Linked DNA regions of Homo sapiens: region 2 is linked to region 1. Evidence: promoter capture Hi-C in human tissues and cell types (Jung and others, 2019). All regions are on one chromosome and are shown on one strand. The core of a region is centred on a gene start or on the middle of the fragment in contact, and the rest is flanking DNA. Distances in the headings are between cores, read along the strand shown. Region 1 holds the start of FLRT2 (fibronectin leucine rich transmembrane protein 2). Region 2 has its middle 590 kb from the start of LINC02305.

Region 1 (5,273 bases), core at 890-3,389:
GAATAGTGGGCTGACCCTCTGTTTTTTGAAGCTTGCAGATTTGCTTTTTGTTTTTCTTTCACCCACTTCTCTTATGGATCAGTGAGTTTCCTAATAAAAATAAAGTAACCTAATTGTTATAGTTTTCTAAGTCTGCAAAATTATTGCTCTTTGGAGTCCCTGAGCCACATTTCCTATTCGTTTGCTTCCTCTGGCCCCATCATCACACATTTCTAAAGCTGACTCATAGGTCATGTGCATAAGAAATTTGTTACAACGATTCTGCTTGTACTTTGGCGTGATATTTTTTCTTACTTAATTTTCCTTGTCGTGATTACAATAGATGCAACCAATAGCTTTTAATAGGTGGCACATACTCATAACATGGTTTGCTCATGGTTTAGAAACACCAATAATTTAAAGTATGAATTCTGTAAATCTGCAACCACCCCCTCCCCCATTTTCAATCTCATTCATTTTCTAGCAGCATAAATCAGAAAGCAAAACCTTTGTTGCTTTAAAGATCCTGCTTTGCCTTTTTAAAATGTGTTCTTAAAGATGAAATAATTATGCTGCTTTCCTGGATCAAGATTTCAAAGGAAGAACCTCCTGCGGATACTTATGTACACTTACATACGAAAATGGATGTTTAAATGCAGGTAGATGAGTATTTGTCCTAAAATGTGATCTTCCTTGTTGATGCTGGAGCTTGAGGAGCTATCCCTATGCTCTGCTGCCACCTTGGAAACTCAGAAGGATTTACAACGGAGTTCTGCACAGGGGAAGCTGGAAGCAGCATTCCCACAGCCTCTTCTGGGGCTGGCAAGGCTCAGAGAGGCATTTGAAATGGCTATTATTGACACCCATAGACTTGGGTATGTTTCAGAGAGAAACTATAACATCTATCTCATGGGAAAACACACTTTCTCTGTTTTTAAATAACTCCGTTTCAGCAAGATCCATGTGTGTAGCCTCTGAATACTCTATAAAGGCTCCGTATTTCTTTCTTTCTTTCCTTAGTCCGGAATGGAGACAGAAGAAAGATTCGGTTGAAGATGTCCCTGTGTGGATCTCAGTTTGCGCTCTGAGCGACGTCCTGGCTCATTTGGGTGTGACGGTGAGAGCAGAGGCGCTCTGCTGACAGTTTTTTCTTGTCTAAGCTTCCATTCCGCATCCACAATATGACTCGCCTTCCACTCCAGTTAACTTCTTGGAAGTCCAGAGCACTTAGTCAAAGCTGTTTACAAAATGCAAAGCATCTGGGCGGCCAAGGCAGAGGCTCCTGTGTTCTCTATGTAACCGCCTCCAAAAAAGCTGGGAAATTTCGCGGATCAAAATGTAGGCGCTTAAAGCTGACCCTCTGCTGTCAATGTTGGGACTTAGATACATTTTTTGCATCGTCATTCTTGTGTGTGTTTCCCGTTTATTCCATTCTAAGGCTCAGGCTCGCGCTGTTTCTCTCGCGCGCGCTGTCCCCTCTCTCCATTTCCCATTCACACATCAAACTCCGTCCTCCGCACCCCTATCTTCCCGTGTCTTCTTAGTTATGTGAATGTGTGTCATTAGGCTTACTCGGACACTGGATGGGTGAGTGGGAGGCAGCTTTTCTTGCGGTTTCATTTACACTTGGCATGGGTGGGTGGGTGCCCTCCACAATTCGTCTCGCACACGGAACACAGTTAAAATCTGTAGCTAGAACGAGTGAAAAGTTCCGAATCTTTAAAGCGCAGCTAGGACAGGAAATAATACAGGGTTGGGGGATGTGGACGGGGGCGGAGAGCAGAGAAGTAAAGGAATAAAACCAACTTCGCTGGCAACTTCAATAAATCCGGTAACTGGAGGCAAAAAATAGACTCCGAGGGCTGGGTCTGGTCCGGATGAAACGCTAGGGCTCCTTCCCTTCCTTGAATCTTGGGCGCTGGAAGCCAGCCACGGGCGTCTTGCCACGCGAGTGCCCCTAGACAGCAACACACCCACTGGAAACGCACGTGAACAAAGCTCTCGCCCCCGGGAGCCGCTGCCTGCGGTTTCCTAGTCGATCCCAGCTTCTCTAGGGAGTGTCAGGCGCACACAGGGTTAAGTTAGTTCCCTCCCTGGTAGGAGGGAGAGGAGGAGGAGGGGAAAAGCAGCATACTGTCTCAGGCTGGGTACCTTGTAGTTAGTTGTACGTTCGAAACCTGTCGCCGTCACTTGCGCGTTTGGCATTATCCATTGTCACCGCGGAGGAACGAGCGCTCGAGATATCATCAGTGCCCGCAAATCTCCGCGCCAAGGCGCTGAGCTACTCCTTTCCGAGGTGCGCCTCTGGTCCTCCGTCCCTGGTGCCCAGCAGCGGCGAGGCGGCATCTCCGCTCCCGCCGCCGTGTCCACCGAGCCCTGGGATCAGGGTGGCAGTTCTCAACGATGGGCAGGAGGGACCTCGGCGGCGACCCCTAAAACAATACCATGCCCCGGGATCCCCGCTGCTGCCGCGCCAGCGTCTTCCCTTTCCACCTCCCTGACCCTGTCGGATTCGGATGAGCCCATTGCAAGGAGAAGACGCAGCCGTCAGGTAAAAGGGGCTGCGTTGCCAGGTGAAGTTTCCAGTAACCGGCCGAGCTGCTGCTACGCTGGCACCACGCTGTCTCTTCGGGGGATTTTTTTTTTTTGAAAGAGCTGGGGGTGGTCATCTTAAGTGGGGTGCTCTAGGCTTTGTCTTTCACCTGGAGAGAAAATAGGCAGCTTAGCTCTCTCTCGACTTTGGGGACATCTGTCTGCTGGTCGAATCCACCTCCTCTACGGAGCATCATGACTGAGTTCTGGGTCAAAACGCAAATTTTCTTGCCTGGTAGATGCATCGATGCTAAATTGGGGTTCTCAGTGCCCCTAACCTTGTCAGAGTTCAGTCTCCTACTTCCCTAGATTGAATCTCTTAACTTTCACCAGTAACAACCCTCTCCCCTCCACAAGCTGTTGTTAATGTCACCAGCGTTATTATCAGGCTGTTGTATCTAAAGACACCAACCTACTACCTGCCCGTAATCTGGGATCTATTAGCAGTTAAACAGATGCGGTGGATACTAATTCCTTTTCCTTCCAGTTGGTGGGGGCGGGTGGGGCTTTTTCCAAAACCAAGTCCCTTCCAGCCCTGCTTGTCCTCTTCGGGCTGGCGGGCACTGAGCTGGGGCCATCACGCCTTTCTAGAGCGCCTGCGGAGGTGGCGAAGGCTTGGAGAGCATACGAGGCGGAATCCGGATCGAGTGAGTTCCTTGAGCCGCTTGCGTGGGACGCAGGGAGAGGGCGAATAACGCCCTCAGGCGCTGAATGCAGGGGCAAGGAGCCAGCGAGGGTGGCTGGAGCAGGCCTTGCCAGCTGTTACCAAGTCTCTCCACAGGCTTGGGGGCTTGGGGCCTCCTGGAAAGATCCCTCCGCCGCGCTGACCAGTACGGGGCTCGCTCCCGCACTTTGAAGGCTGCCGCGGTCTTTCGTCATTTATAATCAAGCCCAAGATCAAGGTTGCAAGCTGAGGTCGGGGTACTGACAACGGGAATGAAGCCATAGGGGAAGAGGATAACTGGGACGGGCTGGACCCATACTTGATACCCGGGAAACTCCTAGAGCGTGTGGTGCTCCTGCCAGCGGCAGTTACTGGTGGAGCTGAGGCCACCGCTACTGTCGTCGTTGGCGCTTTGCTTCTGGAACCTCCCAGCAAGATGGCACTCACTGTCTGTTCCCTTCCGATTAGCACCCCCAGCCGCGCTCCCTCCTCCCCGGGATACGTATTAGTCACATACTGTGGGGAGAAGATGGGCTATGTAAATGTAAGTCAACGCGCTTTCCCAGCCACCTTTGCATAATGCAACAGGAACAGCGACCCGCGCGCACGAACCGGGTAGTGTGCGCGTGTGTGTGCTCGCGTGTGTGAGCGCGTGTGCCAGCGTGCGTCTCCGCGCGGGCGTGCGTCTGGGTGGATCCTTGCGTGGCTTGGGAGGCAAATCGGGCGTTTCTCCAAGTCGTCTTAACATGATTTAGGCTCTCAAATACGTGAAAGCGGTAGACACAACAGGGATGCGAAGGAAATAAAAAACAATTGGGGAAGTGGTGCCAAGTCACTCAGGCTTTGAACTGAGGACGAGTAGTGCGGTCGCGCCTGGGGCGCGTCCGGAAATCATCCTCAGCCTGTGGCGGCCACTGCCCCACTTAAACTCTTCTGCGGGGAGAGTTGAGCGGATCCCTGGGGGGTTGGTCCTGGGCTAGTTTTAAACTCTCCGGTTGCATCTCGCGTGGCCCCACCGACGGCGCGTCTCGGCGTAGCTCTTGGCGCGGGCTCGTTCTCCCTCTTCTGTTCAGATTCAGCCTCACCGGACTTGTTACAACATGACAGCAACTTACTGGAGGCAGGAAGAGCAGCACGAAATAAGATGAGAAAACCAAAAACATCTCCTCCTTCCTAAATAGAGACGTGCACCTAGCTTTTTTTACTTGTTTGTTTGTTTTTTACATTACCCTTTAACCTTTGGAAAGAGACTGCGAAGTGGAAACGTTGCCTGTACAGAAATCAGGCTTCTTAGCTGTCAAGACTGTTTCCTAATCTTTAGGCTGAATCTTTCTTTGTCCGCTGCAATCTATGGGGAAATTTAACAACGCTCTTGCCAGAAGCAGCCAGGTTGAAGGAAGAAAGTGGGGGTGTTTAAATTAATCCTATTAAATTTTGGATTACTCCCCCAGTTAAAGTCATTTAAGGTGGTCCAGGATGAGGGAACTAGTGATGGGGTGAGGAGTGGGGGGCACATCACCAAGGTTGCCTGCATTTGAAATAACGCCATTTTGGTTGAGAGGTTTGCTGTATTTTACCCTCTAATCTCACATTTCGATCATTTCTCAGTGTCTAAGTAATAGATCCTCCCTCTTGGCAGTACACCATTAAGCAGGTATGGGGAATTCTCCTTTCAGGGTTCAGATGGTGACATTATCCCTAAGGACTGGTGGTAGGAACGGCATGTGCCGGGTAGATAGAGAGAAGGTCAGGGTGGCATCTGCCGGGTTAGCCAGGCGCTCTTCAACTCTTTTCAGAGAGGACAGGGTTAAAAGCCAAGTCTGACTTTGCCTCTTGGAAATCACTGGGTAGCAGCCGCGCCTCCCAAGCATTCTTTAAACCAGAAAAGTAGGAGGGACTCCGGGAGAGAGGGAGGGAATGAGGGAGGGAGAGAAAGAGGGCTCCAGGAGCGGAGCGCGCCAGAGCGCGAGGGACGGAGGGAGAGGAGGAGCGCGGGAGCTGCGGAGGCGATCCCGCGAATTCATTACTGTAAACATAT
Region 2 (5,273 bases), core at 1,115-3,614, 1.0 Mb before region 1:
TTTTAGATGAAAATGGGGAGGTGATGGCTCATTTACTTCTCATCCATCCGCCTACCATAGCCATTGCACACAGCACACCATGATGAATGTTTGGTCTTTGGGGCTGCTTTGTCTCAATGAAATCCTTATCAGGACCCTGCAACTTTCTTCATTGTGTAGACTGTTTTTCTGTCCTGACACTTTGTACAATTATAAGTGTCCTCTTTGATTTTTCATTAAGCTTTTGAAGTACTGAGTGTGTGAGGAGGAAATTATTATCCTAATTTCACAACCATAGAGATTAAGGCACATGAGAAATGAGACCCATATTTAAGTCAGTGACATGGTCAGGATTATAATTCAAAATGTACTTGTTGCAGGATCCCCTGAGTCATATCTTTCCAATGCATTACCCCTGGATAAATATGCTAGAGGAGAAATAGATCCTTTTGTTTTCATTAGGGAATCTATTTGTTGACATTTGTCTTTTCAGAGACACAAGGAATGTGTATGTGCTTTTTCCCTTCAAGCTAAAGAAAAGAAAAAAAATTATTATCACTAGATATCTTTGAAAATTAAGTACATTTAAGAGGGCAATCAATATCTAGGTGTCATTTCCTTAATTCAAATTACCGCAAGTCATAAAAAGAAAATAAAATACTCTTAGGGACAAACTTAGTTCAAAATTTTGGAGGCATGCTTCAAAATTTCCTTACAAAGAGAAATATAGAAATTAGAACTATAACTCTTTGAAAGAGCCTAAAAATTTAGCACCCATTTCAGACATCTATGTGTGAGTCTACTCAGAAATCTTTCTTAAGTAAATATTTGTGAATAAACATTCAAATTTCTGTCTGAATATAAGATATTTATTTATAAGGTAGGAGTCTTTTTCCTGTGTGCTGTTGTTGTAGGATGGTGGATGGAAGAAACAGGAGATGAATTGAAGTCAAAGAGAACAGATGGGAGACTATTGCAAAGGTTTAGATAAGGATTTCATTCACTCCATCAATTTTTATTCATCATTCACTCTGTGTAAGGAACAGTACTTGCCAAAAGGGATATTTCGGTGGGCAAGACAGACCTAGCTGGGCTGTTGGAGGACTTGGTGAAGCTGACGAGGGATTCTAATAAGAAATGATGGATACGGCACAAGGAAGAGGAAGGTACTATGAGGATATATGGTCATGTGATCTAATATAATCTAATATGCTTTGACCAAAAGCAATGGTCCGAGACTTGAGAACAAGAAATAAATATGAGAAATGTTTAGAATGTAAAACCAACACAATCTCTAGAGAGGGGAGAGGAGGCTAGGTCTTACAGGAGTGTGGGAGAGGAATGTAGAGAGATGAATGCTTCTCCTTAACATTATAAGGAATATCCTGGATAGCCTCACCACCCCTAACTTGCATTACTCCTCCTTCTTATGTATTTTCCAACAATAAGCAACTTGGTCTATGTAGAAACCCACATCTACATCACTTTACTCGTCTTCCTCTTACTGGGCCGCATCTCCATTTTCTTCTCCTGGCTACATCTTACCAGTCAAAGATTCATCTGAGCTATTACAACCTTCTAGACATTTCTCCAAGTCAGATAAGGGATAGAGGATATATATATAGAGAGGTGTTGGAGCTGTAATGTGACATTTTCTAGCCTCAGTTCCTTTCCTTGTGCTGTTGTGACTTTTCATGGTCATTTCCTATCCTACTGAATCTACTTCCTTTGTGAAAAATAGAAGAGGATTAATTCCTGGGTCAATCAACAAAACCATTCACATATTCCTAGAGTTGCTGCTATACTAGAATCATTAAGCTCTGGGTTGTGAGTGTTTCAAGCACTACCAAGACATGGCACTTAATGTCAATTAGGAAAAACTGACAAAGTTGGCATCTTAAATGTTTATTCAGTAACTTTATAGCAAGTAATTCTACTTGAGTAAAGAGGGTAAAATGTAAAAGTTTGCAAATAAAAAAGTTAATATACAATTAACAGCTCAATATGACAAGTTACACTTACATAATTTAAAACTAAACCCCAATGAATTCGTAATTTTTCTTAAATGTCTACTTTCTGACATACTTAAGCTTTCTTGATTAAAATAAAATATTCAGGAGAACTTTCCTAATTTTTGATATTTTTTATGAAATGTAAGTGAACACTTTAAAGTCTCAAAACAATAAAACGGTTATTTACACACATGCATACAACTATATACAAAGAAAAGCAAACCAAACCAAACCTCTTGTAACTTCACTTTTTATTTGCTACTTTTAAGTGTGATTCATATAAGATTTACATAGGCTAATAATGTTACAAAAATCTGGGCTAAAACCACATATGGACTAATCAGCTTCAATATACGTGAAAAGTAATTATGAAATTAAGCGGGTGATACTAGGGCAATTGTATTGAAAAGGTATATAGCATTCATAGAGTTTTGCCTCACAATATTCTTGTGTAGATTAGAAATAAACCAGCTAATGGTTTATATTCTGTTCATAGTGGTAACTTTCATGCGCGTCCGTGTAAAGAGACCACCCAACAGACTTTGTGTGAGCAATAAAGCTTTTAATCACCTGGGTGCAGGCAGGCTGAGTCTGAAAAGAGAGTCAGTGAAGAGAGATAGGGGTGGGGCCATTTTATAAGATTTGTGTAGGTAAAGGAAAATTACAGTCAAAGGGGGGTTGTTCTCTGGCAGGCAGGAGTGGGGGTCACAAGGTGCTCAGTAGGGGAGCTTTTGAGCCAGGATGAGCCAGGAGAAGGAATTTCACAAGACAATGTCATCAGTTAGGGCAGGAACAGGCCATTTTCACTTCTTTTGTGGTGGAATGTCATCAGTTAAGGCAGGAACCGGCCATCTGGATGTGTACGTGCAGGTCACAGGGGATATGATGGCTTAGCTTGGGCTCAGATGCCTGACATTCCTGTCTTCTTATATTAATAAGAAAAATAAGATGAAATAGTGGTAAAGGGTTGGGATGGCGAAAATTTTGGGGGTGGTATGGAGAGATAATGGGCGATGTTTCTCAGGGCTGCTTCGAGCGGGATTAGGGGTGACGTGGGAACCTAGAGTGGGAGAGATTAAGCTGAAAGAAGATTTTGTGGTAAGGGGTGATATTGTGGAGTTGTTAGAAGAAACATTTGTCGTGTAGAACTATTGGTGATGGCCTGGATATGGTTTTGTATGAATTGAAAAACTAAATGGAATAAGAGAAGGAGAAAAACAGGTATAAAAGGTCTAAGAATTGGGATGACTCAGGACATCTGATAGAGAGTGCCTAAGGAGATTCAGCATAGTCCTGCCAGCAAAGATTATTTATTTACTTCAGAGTGGCAGTTTGGCGATAGCACCAGGAGATATCAGCTGTGATGACTTGGAGAAACAGTGTAAACCGGCAGTGTAAACAAGAGCAGGGCATGTATGAGTAGTTGAGAACGTTGAATAGGAGTATGACTAGACAGAAGATAGTAGGGATGACAAGTTTTTTTGGGGCACAGTCTAAGTTGGTCTGGTGTCTGGAATGAGACTGGGGCCTAATAAAAAGGAGCGTCTATACAGGAGCTCAAATGGGCTGTACCTTGTAGCATTCTGAGGACATGTCTGACTTCTGAGAAGGGAAAGTCTTAAAAGTATTGTCCAGTCCTTTTTAAGTTGGTGGCTGAGCTTGGTGAGGTGTGTTTTTAAAAGACCTTTAGTCCGTTCTACTTTTCCTGAAGATGGAGGACCGTAAGGGATATAAAGGTTTCACTGAATACTAAGAGCCTGAAAAACTGCTTGGCTGATTTGACTAATAAAGGCTGGTCTGTTATCAGACTGTATAGAGGTGGGAAGGCTAAACTGAGGAATTATGTCTGACAGAAGGGAAGAAATGACTGCAGTGGCCTTCTCAGACCCTGTAGGAAAGGTCTGTACCTATCCAGTGAAAATGTCTACCTAGACTAAGAGGTATTTTAGTTATCTGACTCGGGGCATGTTGAGTAAAGCTAATTTGCCAGTCCTGGGTGGGGGCAAATCCTTCAGCTTGATGTGTAGGGAAGGGAGGGGGCCTGAATAAGCCCTGAGGAGTAGTAGAATAGCAGATGGAACACTGAGAAGTTATTTCCTTGGGGATAGATTTCCATGATGGAAAGGAAATGAGAGGTTCTAAGAGGTGGGCTAGTGCCTTGTACTATAGCATAGCCTGCCTTTGCTGGTGTGTGGCGATTAGGCCTGGTGGAACCGCCATCAATAAATCAAGCGTGATCAGGGTGAGGAATAGGAAAGAAGGAAATATGGGGAAATGGGATGAATGTCAGGTGGATCAGAGAGAGACAGTCATGGGGGTCAGGTGTGGTATCAGGAATAATGTGGGAGGCCGGATTGAAGTCCCGGCCAGGAACAATGGTAATTGTGGGACTTAACAAAGAGTGACTACAGCTGAAGTATCCGGGGAGCAGAAAGTATTTGCGTCAGGTATGAGGAAGAAAATAGATTTTGGAAGTTATGAGAAATGTAGAGAGTAAGTTGAGCATAGTTTGTGATTTTGAGGGCCTCTAAAAGTATTAGGGCGGCAGCAGCCACTGCATGGAGACATGATGGCTAGGCTAAAACAGTAAGGTCAAGTTGTTTGCACAGAAAAGCTACAGGGTGCGGTCCTGGCTCTTGTGTAAGAATTCTGACCGTGCTAACCATGCCTAGGAAGGAAAGGAGTTGTTGTTTTGTAAGGGATTGAGGTTTGGGAGATTAATTGGACATGATCAGCAGGGAAAGCAGGTGTGTTTTTATGAGAATTATGCCGAGATAGGTAACAGATGAGGATGAAATTTGGGCTTGACTGAAGTAATGGGGGCCATCTGTGAAGCCTTGCGGCAGTACAGCCCAGGTGATTTTCTGAGCCTAATGGGTGTCAGGGTCAGTCCAAGTGAATGCGAAGACAGGCTGGGATGACGAGTGCAAAGGAATAGTAAAGAAAGCATGTTTGAGATCCAGAACAGAATAATGGATTGTGGAGGGAGGTATTGAGGATAGGAGAGTATATGGGTTTGGCACCATGGGGTGGATAGGCAAAACAATTTGGTTGATAAGGCATAGATCCTGAACTAACTTGTAAGGCTTGCCTGGTTTTAGGACAGGTAAAATGGGGGAATTGTAAGGAGAGTTTATAGGCTTTAAAAGGCCATGCTATAGCAGGTGAGTGATAGCAGGCTTTAATCCTTTCAAAGCATGCCGTGGGATGGGATATTGGCATTGAGTAGGGTAAGGGTGATTAGGTTTTAATGAGATGGTAAGGGGTGCATGATCGGTCGCC

What was found. The method cuts DNA at HindIII sites, captures the fragments that hold promoters and counts their contacts. A contact is called where the count stands out against the background at its distance.
Region 2: a contact is called between a fragment that was not itself captured here and the fragment with the promoter of FLRT2 in region 1, in 1 of the 25 tissues and cell types used here (hippocampus).

What each region holds. Positions count from the first base shown.
Region 1 is chr14:85,528,005-85,533,277 of GRCh38, forward strand. It overlaps FLRT2 (fibronectin leucine rich transmembrane protein 2), which reads left to right and starts at 2,140. Exons shown (of 2, transcript NM_013231.6): 1 at 2,140-2,530. FLRT2-AS1 (FLRT2 antisense RNA 1) reads right to left here and starts at 3,655. Exons shown (of 2, transcript NR_184170.1): 1 at 613-3,655. The HindIII fragment of the contact is 3,489 bases long and covers 586-4,074 here.
Region 2 is chr14:84,497,754-84,503,026 of GRCh38, forward strand. No RefSeq gene overlaps it. Among named protein-coding and RNA genes, the nearest start is that of LINC02305, 590 kb to the left of the region's middle. The HindIII fragment of the contact is 5,685 bases long and covers 1-5,207 here.